Regions from separate parts of the Homo sapiens genome. Here region 2 is linked to region 1. The links are contacts of gene promoters, found by promoter capture Hi-C in blood cells and fetal thymus (Javierre and others, 2016). All regions are on one chromosome and are shown on one strand. Each heading gives the region's core, a stretch centred on a gene start or on the middle of the fragment in contact. The rest is flanking DNA. Distances are from core to core; before and after follow the strand shown. Region 1 holds the start of SVIP (small VCP interacting protein). Region 2 overlaps LGR4 (leucine rich repeat containing G protein-coupled receptor 4).

Region 1 (4,700 bases), core at 1,127-3,626:
TTTATATCTCAATAATGTTTATTAAAAATAAAAATCAATAAACCATGGAAAGTGTTGGGGAAATAATTATGTCATGGAAAGTGTTTTGATAATAATTAAAAACAAAATCTGCCAATGCAGGAAACTCTCCACAAATGCAGAAAAGAAACAGTTTTATCATTGAATAAGCATTAAATCGATTGTGATTTCTATCAGAAGCAATCTACTAAAGAGTTTGCAATGAAAACATTCTTCACCATTTTTATATAGCCTGTCAGATACAGTCCACTACACACATGTTAATTGTTTTTATCTAAAAGAAATCTAAAGGAAAGAATAACACTTGTATCTCTTGACAAGCAGAAAGCTCCATCTTGAAGCCAAGTGCCTAGACAGTAAACTACCATGAAGACGGGGAGACAGGTGCCACTCTGGGATGTTTTCATTTCTAAGAGAAAGCCAATAGGCCTCCAAAGATATTCTGAGGATACAAAACTGGCAAGAGGCTTATTTAGGTTCTTTCTTTCTGATGCAAAACTGGCAAGAGGCTTATTTAGCCTCCCCTGCCCTCCCCTCCCCTCCCCTCCCCTCCTCTCTTTCTTTTCTTTCGACGCAATCTCTCTCTGTTGTGCAGGCTGGAGTGCAGTGGCGCGAGCTCGGCTCACTGCAACCTCCGCCTCCCGGGTTCAAACGATTCTCCCTGCTCAGCCTCCGGAGTAGCTGGGATTACAGGCGCCCACCACCATGCCTGGCGAAGTTTTGTATTTTTAATAGAGAAAGGGTTTCCCCACGTTGGTCAGGCTGGTCTTAAACTCCTGACCTCAGGTGATCCACCCACCTTGGCCTCCAAAAGTACAGGAGTAAGCCACCATGCCTGGCCTTTTTTTTTTTTTCATACATTTCAGTGAGACAGAGATAGCGCTTACAATTTCACGTTTTCTAAACACAATGCTAAAGAGGAGGTGGGTAGTTATCTTTCTCTTTTTGCAACAGAGAACCTTCACTTTTTCTTTATATATTTTTATTTACCCTTAGAAACGGCCCATGCAATCGAATAATAGTATTAAAAAAGCATCATCCCCTATTATTTAAGGAATAAACTACTGTTTCATTCAATAACATGGAAGAATTTAGAAAATATTATGGCTTTTGCAAAACATATTGTATATTTCATTTATGTAAAACTTAAAGACTATAGTGATATTAACATTTATGCAAAACTTAAAGACTAAAGTGATATTAAACAAATTAATAGTTTCCTGGATCTAGGTATAGGATAAAGTATTGAATGGGATTGGGTACAATAGAAGGTTTTTGGGTGATGGAAAACTTACATATCTTGAATGTGGTGATCACATGTTTGTTAAAACTCAGTGAACTCTACAATCAAAATAAGTGCATAATATTATATGTAAATTATACATCTATAAAAAATTAACCAGCAAGTATATCAAAAAGCCGACAATGGTTTCTGAGACGCTGTCACTATACATCCTACCTTTTTGTAATGTTTGAAAATTTTTACATAAGCAGAAATAACTAATAGAATGCAAAAATAAAATAAAATAAAATAAAAGCATTTGTGTGGAGACGAGATCAGTAACTTTAGTATCACCTGTGGGTTTACTGGAAATGAATCTCAGGTCCCACCTTATACTTACTAAATCAGCAAGTAAATTTTAACTAGTTGCCCAGCTGATTCTCATACTTATTAAAATTTGAGGAGAATCATTAAAACATTTCTCAGTAGATGAAACTTTATTATTTCTCTCGGAAGGATAAATGACTTCTAAATACCAGAAACTAGTGGAAATGTCAACTAATGCCACATTTATGACGCTAGATTCATCGTCATAATAATGGATTTTATATTCTGCCCTCTGTTCTGGAATAGCACTGTCACTAAGAAGGGAGAAAAGGGTGCTGATGTTTACTTGGAATTTTGGCTTTAATTTCTAGGACACCAGAGTCCCATCTCATAAAAAAAGGTAGCATGAACTACCCAGAGCTGTACCACTCATTCATTTATAAATGGTAAGGCAAGGTTAGCAGGAAGAGCTTTGGAACCGTAGCGAAGCTTTTCCATCCCTTCCCTGCATTGCTACCCACAGCAGGTGTTTCCTGGAACCTAGGCTTTGGCCACAAGCCCAGCGGTCGCGGGGCGGGGGTAGGCGGAGCTGTGGGTGAGGAAGGGGCAATGCCTTAAGGGGGCGCAGCTGAGCTGTGGGACTGGTTGGTGTCGCGAGAAGAGGGGGGCGTTGCCGCAGAGAGGCGAGGCGGGGCAGAGCTGCGGGGTGGGGGCGGGGCGTTGCCGCTGGGGCGGAGCCGAGCCAGTGGAGGGCGGTGGGGGCGGGGCAAGCGCGGAGGACCAGGGACCGGCTCCGGACCGCGCAGTTAGCGCCGCCTGGCCTGGGCCGGACCCGGTCAGGGTTCTCAAGCTGTCGTCCCTATGGGGCTGTGTTTTCCTTGTCCCGGGGAGTCCGCGCCTCCCACGCCGGACCTGGTGAGTAGAGCAGGTCCCTGCGTCCGCCGGGCCGCGCCTTGAGCACCTGTCCTCGGGTTGCGGGGCGGGCCGAGCCATTGTACCTGGTGGCGCAGGTCGAGAGCCCGCTGGGGGACCCTGCTAGCGAGGACGGGTGGACGCGTCAGGAGGGTCGTTGGGTCCTGTCAGAGCGACCTAGGCCGTCGCCTCCGTGTAGATCTCCACTTTTGTAACAAAAAGTTGTCGAAAGGCGGCTGTGGCGTCTTTCTACCTTCCACTGACTTTAGCTGCGCCGGATCTTCATAGGGCGCCGGCGCACGCAGAGGGCGTTACGCGTGGGACATTCCGGGGGATGTGGTAGATGGAATTCGGCGCGAAAAGACATTGCTTTCTCCGGGAGCTCTTTAGTCGTCTAGGAGATGTGCGTTTTCAACTGTGTCTACCATCTTTTAAAAGAAGGTGCTCGGAAAGTCGCTTATACGCCTGAGCTTTATCGGATATGTTTTTTTAATGATTTCTTTTTAGTATTTATCTCATTCTTTTACGTTCTCCCTTTAAAAGAATATGTAGTACAGAGTGTCCAATTTATAATGTCGTATTTAATAAAAATACTGGACACCCAGTTACATTCGAATTTCAGATATACAAGGAATACGTTTATAATATCGTTTTGTGCCATGCAATATTAGGGATCTAGTTCTACAAAAACATTACTCATTGCTTATCTGAAATTCAAATGTAGCTAGTGGGTGTGTGGTACAATACATGTACACTTTTTGTAGCTTTCTGTTAACAGTATCTTTACATTAGTACTCCTTACAGGGAGTTAACATAAACCTGTTTCTCTTCTCTAGCTAAAAATTAGTTGAAGAAAATGAAGTATTTTTGGGAAGTACATTAACTCTTCAGCTACTATAGATACTAAAAATTTAGTACTTATAAATTTGATGTGGGAAAGTTCAGCTTCTCTTTGTTGCTGCTGTTGTTTTAAATTAAGTTGATTTTGTTGTTCTGGCTGTCGATAAAATATAACATGTCAGATTTGTTAAGCCCTCCCCCCCATCCTCATACTATACCCTCTTCCCTTGATAACCACACGGCTCACTGCTTGGATGTCACTTTACCAGTGAAGCTTTTGCTGACCACGTTAAACAAAATATATTCCCCACAATACCACCCACCCATTCTCCCATTACTTATCTGCCATGCCATCTGACAGACGTTTACTTACTTCATTATATTTGTCTGTGCGCCCGCAATTGGAATTTGTTTCATTTGGGAGGAGACATTTATCTATGTTTTTACACTGTTGTATCCCAGCACCTAGAAAAAGGGCTTTATAATAAGTAGTACATGGTCTAGAAAAATAGCATTCACTGTTTTCTGATATGGAACAATACCTCTCATGAAATTACTCCAGTCCTTCCCTCCTACACACTGAGATTAGCCCACTTCATTTATTAACCTTTCCTAAAAACACCAGGTTACTTCAGACTCCATTTTAACCGGCAGTAACAAACCATGTATTTTCCTTTTTGTATTTGTAAACATTATTTGTTTTGTTATTGCCCTGACTAGCTTGTAGGCCTTTTTATTAAAAAAGAGAGTAAATAAATGATTATATAGGTAAACCTTGTATCTGTTTTAGCATGTGCTGATTTGAAGGCATATTGATTAGGAGAATGAAATTCAAAAAGTTGAGTAGTGGCATTCTTTGTGGGACATTTAGGGCCAGTACCGAATATTTTTGTAAATTGTTATAGTGCCTATGAAATAAATGTGAATAATTTATTAATAATAATGTTTGTTATTTTAATACATATTTTTACACATTTATTTAGGAAGAGAAAAGAGCAAAGCTTGCAGAGGCTGCAGAGAGAAGACAAAAAGAGGTAAGATTAAAGATCAAGTTTTGCCTACTTAGATAATTGAGTTTGGACTTTATTCTTCATAGATGTCCATAGCTAGATTTTCTAACGCAAATGGCCTTTGATATCCCAAAAATTTACATTTAAATGTAATTATTTTCAAAATGATTTCCTTATTTATATGAATTGCATTAATATATTTATATTAATATATGAAAACTATCATATCTTCTCTAAATTCAGATACTCTTTTAGTAACATCCTTCCTTTTAAAATGGCTGTGCATTGTAAAATACTTACAGATGTGAAGCAAGTTTAGGGGAAAATTTGTATAGTTACAAAATACCCAGTGAAGAAATGATGTTTTATGT
Region 2 (5,182 bases), core at 245-2,744, 4.5 Mb before region 1:
CTATATCATTAGTTTTTCTATCAAGCCATATCATTTTCTAAATTGTTTTCTAAGTTATCTTTTATTTCTCTCTCTCTGTGTGTGTTTTTTTTAGGTGCTTTTAAGCCCTGTGAATATTTACTGGGAAGCTGGATGATTCGTCTTACTGTGTGGTTCATTTTCTTGGTTGCATTATTTTTCAACCTGCTTGTTATTTTAACAACATTTGCATCTTGTACATCACTGCCTTCGTCCAAATTGTTTATAGGCTTGATTTCTGTGTCTAACTTATTCATGGGAATCTATACTGGCATCCTAACTTTTCTTGATGCTGTGTCCTGGGGCAGATTCGCTGAATTTGGCATTTGGTGGGAAACTGGCAGTGGCTGCAAAGTAGCTGGGTTTCTTGCAGTTTTCTCCTCAGAAAGTGCCATATTTTTATTAATGCTAGCAACTGTCGAAAGAAGCTTATCTGCAAAAGATATAATGAAAAATGGGAAGAGCAATCATCTCAAACAGTTCCGGGTTGCTGCCCTTTTGGCTTTCCTAGGTGCTACAGTAGCAGGCTGTTTTCCCCTTTTCCATAGAGGGGAATATTCTGCATCACCCCTTTGTTTGCCATTTCCTACAGGTGAAACGCCATCATTAGGATTCACTGTAACGTTAGTGCTATTAAACTCACTAGCATTTTTATTAATGGCCGTTATCTACACTAAACTATACTGCAACTTGGAAAAAGAGGACCTCTCAGAAAACTCACAATCTAGCATGATTAAGCATGTCGCTTGGCTAATCTTCACCAATTGCATCTTTTTCTGCCCTGTGGCGTTTTTTTCATTTGCACCATTGATCACTGCAATCTCTATCAGCCCCGAAATAATGAAGTCTGTTACTCTGATATTTTTTCCATTGCCTGCTTGCCTGAATCCAGTCCTGTATGTTTTCTTCAACCCAAAGTTTAAAGAAGACTGGAAGTTACTGAAGCGACGTGTTACCAAGAAAAGTGGATCAGTTTCAGTTTCCATCAGTAGCCAAGGTGGTTGTCTGGAACAGGATTTCTACTACGACTGTGGCATGTACTCACATTTGCAGGGCAACCTGACTGTTTGCGACTGCTGCGAATCGTTTCTTTTAACAAAGCCAGTATCATGCAAACACTTGATAAAATCACACAGCTGTCCTGCATTGGCAGTGGCTTCTTGCCAAAGACCTGAGGGCTACTGGTCCGACTGTGGCACACAGTCGGCCCACTCTGATTATGCAGATGAAGAAGATTCCTTTGTCTCAGACAGTTCTGACCAGGTGCAGGCCTGTGGACGAGCCTGCTTCTACCAGAGTAGAGGATTCCCTTTGGTGCGCTATGCTTACAATCTACCAAGAGTTAAAGACTGAACTACTGTGTGTGTAACCGTTTCCCCCGTCAACCAAAATCAGTGTTTATAGAGTGAACCCTATTCTCATCTTTCATCTGGGAAGCACTTCTGTAATCACTGCCTGGTGTCACTTAGAAGAAGGAGAGGTGGCAGTTTATTTCTCAAACCAGTCATTTTCAAAGAACAGGTGCCTAAATTATAAATTGGTGAAAAATGCAATGTCCAAGCAATGTATGATCTGTTTGAAACAAATATATGACTTGAAAAGGATCTTAGGTGTAGTAGAGCAATATAATGTTAGTTTTTTCTGATCCATAAGAAGCAAATTTATACCTATTTGTGTATTAAGCACAAGATAAAGAACAGCTGTTAATATTTTTTAAAAATCTATTTTAAAATGTGATTTTCTATAACTGAAGAAAATATCTTGCTAATTTTACCTAATGTTTCATCCTTAATCTCAGGACAACTTACTGCAGGGCCAAAAAAGGGACTGTCCCAGCTAGAACTGTGAGAGTATACATAGGCATTACTTTATTATGTTTTCACTTGCCATCCTTGACATAAGAGAACTATAAATTTTGTTTAAGCAATTTATAAATCTAAAACCTGAAGATGTTTTTAAAACAATATTAACAGCTGTTAGGTTAAAAAAATAGCTGGACATTTGTTTTCAGTCATTATACATTGCTTTGGTCCAATCAGTAATTTTTTCTTAAGTGTTTTGTGATTACACTACTAGAAAAAAAGTAAAAGGCTAATTGCTGTGTGGGTTTAGTCGATTTGGCTAAACTACTAACTAATGTGGGGGTTTAATAGTATCTGAGGGATTTGGTGGCTTCATGTAATGTTCTCATTAATGAATACTTCCTAATATCGTTGGCTCTACTAATATTTTCCAATTTGCTGGGATGTCACCTAGCAATAGCTTGGATTATATAGAAAGTAAACTGTGGTCAATACTTGCATTTAATTAGACGAAACGGGGAGTAATTATGACACGAAGTACTTATGTTTATTTCTTAGTGAGCTGGATTATCTTGAACCTGTGCTATTAAATGGAAATTTCCATACATCTTCCCCATACTATTTTTTATAAAAGAGCCTATTCAATAGCTCAGAGGTTGAACTCTGGTTAAACAAGATAATATGTTATTAATAAAAATAGAAGAAGAAAGAATAAAGCTTAGTCCTGTGTCTTTAAAAATTAAAAATTTTACTTGATTCCCATCTATGGGCTTTAGACCTATTACTGGGTGGAGTCTTAAAGTTATAATTGTTCAATATGTTTTTTGAACAGTGTGCTAAATCAATAGCAAACCCACTGCCATATTAGTTATTCTGAATATACTAAAAAAATCCAGCTAGATTGCAGTTTAATAATTAAACTGTACATACTGTGCATATAATGAATTTTTATCTTATGTAAATTATTTTTAGAACACAAGTTGGGAAATGTGGCTTCTGTTCATTTCGTTTAATTAAAGCTACCTCCTAAACTATAGTGGCTGCCAGTAGCAGACTGTTAAATTGTGGTTTATATACTTTTTGCATTGTAAATAGTCTTTGTTGTACATTGTCAGTGTAATAAAAACAGAATCTTTGTATATCAAAATCATGTAGTTTGTATAAAATGTGGGAAGGATTTATTTACAGTGTGTTGTAATTTTGTAAGGCCAACTATTTACAAGTTTTAAAAATTGCTATCATGTATATTTACACATCTGATAAATATTAAATCATAACTTGGTAAGAAACTCCTAATTAAAAGGTTTTTTCCAAAATTCAGGTTATTGAAAACTTTTCATTTTATTCATTTAAAAACTAGAATAACAGATATATAAAAGTGTTAATCTTTGTGCTATATGGTATGAAATACAATATTGTACTCAGTGTTTTGAATTATTAAAGTTTCTAGAAAGCAATCTATTTTGCCTTAATTTAAAACTAGGTATATTAATGAATTTAGTTTTAAAGTAAGCAAATTAAATATTTGTAAGTGGACAGTATTAGAAGAAATGTTGGAAGTAACCATTAGAAAACACTATTTTGATATTTATTTGTAAACATATAAGAACATTTTGCTGAAACTTAGAAATAAGGTTTTATCCTAAGTCTGAACTATACTCATGGAAAACAGATTATGAAATTTCAGAAAAACCATTGATTCAATCTTTATCTAAAAAGCAAATGATTAAAAAATCTGCATGATATTAAATGTAGTCAGTTGCCCAGATGCTTAGAAATACTTCAGTATTTACAATCATTAAGTCCTCATTTTACAGATGAGAAAACAAAAGGCTTAATGAAATTTAAGTGAATCCCTGAGTCACAGCAAATTTGACCCCAAACCAGAACCCAATGCCTCTTCATTTGGGACATAATTTTGTGTGTGTGTTTGTTTTAAATTTCATATATGCTTGAAATTTCCATAACAAAAAGTAGAGTAGTATAATTACCCCACCTCCCTACCCTTCACCCCATACCTGTCACTGCTTTGACAATTATCTGCAGCATGTAGTGAACCTTGTTTCATCTTCATCCTATTCACTAATCCCCTCCAATCCCTCTGCCCCTTGCATTATTTTGAAGCAAATTTAAGACATTATATTGTTTCATCTGTAAATACTAATGTCTAGGGATAAATTTTTAAAGTTGCATAATATATGCCACAGGGCTAACTGGTGATGGAATTATTTAAGCAAAAGTGACTCTTATATAAGTTTCCAGAGCCAGCAAAACATAATTACCTCAAATATACCATGGCCAAAGTACTAATTGTATGAAAAGATGTCACTAAGTCAATACCCTAAAACTTAAAGGGAGAGACACTCTTTTATACATTTGTACATTTATATATAATTCTACCCATCTCGATTATGGCTTCTCAGCTCCAGTAATGAAAAGGCACTGTAAGAAATGAGGCCGCTGGACTTAATTATGTTCAAACACCAGCACCAGCACCATCTGACTCTGCCTCATACCCTTGGGGGGGTCCAGCATTGCTAGTGCATAATGTCACAGTTGGTCATAATGATGACCCTGGCGCATCAAGAAAAGGGTATACTTTGTTTAGGAAAACATTTTAAGGGGACAAAGAAGTATATGACATTTAGATTCCCATGCGTAGAGGTTAAAGTGAAAAAGTTCTGAAGTTTACACACAACTTTTCATTGTATCTTTCTGATTCTGAGCTTAGAAACTTTGAGAATTAATGAGATAATATGACCCTGTGAGGTAAATTTTTCCCCTATTTTCAGAGGAGTGTTAGGAATGGAAAACCTATCAAGTACCAAGAAAACCACTGATTCCAGGTCCCTTTCATACTAGTGTTTTTCCCACTACAGTTATGTTTGGTTATATCTATTGGAAAACAGCTTCTCAAGCTTACCTCTTTATGAGGCCCTAAGGCAGCTCAGTGCGTTTCGATGTTACTGATTCTAGAGATGTTCTGATAAAAGGTTTTTAAATGCCAATATTGAATAACTAGGGTCGAGAACGAAAACTCCATTAGGTCAGTTTTATTCCTTGATCAACTTTATTACTCATTTGGAGTGCTCCAATTTTCTTTCATTTTGTTTTCACCGAAATTTTAAAGAAAATATTCAATTTAAATAGATTTAATCATGTCATATTTTATTAATTATAGCTCTGCCTTCTGAATTGCCTTTGGTTGCTATTACTTCTACCATAGCTAATTCTCCTGTGTTAAATTTTGCAGATCTAGATTTCATCAAAGTTTTTGTATCACTCTGGTCACTAAAAAGTTTTGTGTGATGTGTTAGCCATGGTCAATTTTCGTTTATGGTATTTCTACCGGTAATATACAT

The links. The method cuts DNA at HindIII sites, captures the fragments that hold promoters and counts their contacts. A CHiCAGO score of 5 or more calls a contact.
Region 2: a fragment that was not itself captured here is called in contact with the fragment with the promoter of SVIP in region 1 in 1 of 17 cell types (total B cells); the score reaches 5.3 in total B cells.

What each region holds. Positions count from the first base shown.
Region 1 is chr11:22,827,477-22,832,176 of GRCh38, reverse strand. It overlaps SVIP (small VCP interacting protein), which reads left to right and starts at 2,376. Exons shown (of 4, transcript NM_148893.3): 1 at 2,376-2,482; 2 at 4,303-4,353. The coding sequence starts at 2,429. LINC02718 (long intergenic non-protein coding RNA 2718) reads right to left here and starts at 2,763. Exons shown (of 11, transcript NR_187210.1): 1 at 2,566-2,763. RefSeq lists a silencer at 2,252-2,321 and an enhancer at 2,472-2,781. The HindIII fragment of the contact is 1,537 bases long and covers 2,059-3,595 here.
Region 2 is chr11:27,364,056-27,369,237 of GRCh38, reverse strand. It overlaps LGR4 (leucine rich repeat containing G protein-coupled receptor 4), which reads left to right. Exons shown (of 18, transcript NM_018490.5): 18 at 95-3,277. The coding sequence ends at 1,371. Among named protein-coding and RNA genes, the nearest start is that of CCDC34, 3.4 kb to the right of the region's middle. The HindIII fragment of the contact is 2,091 bases long and covers 449-2,539 here.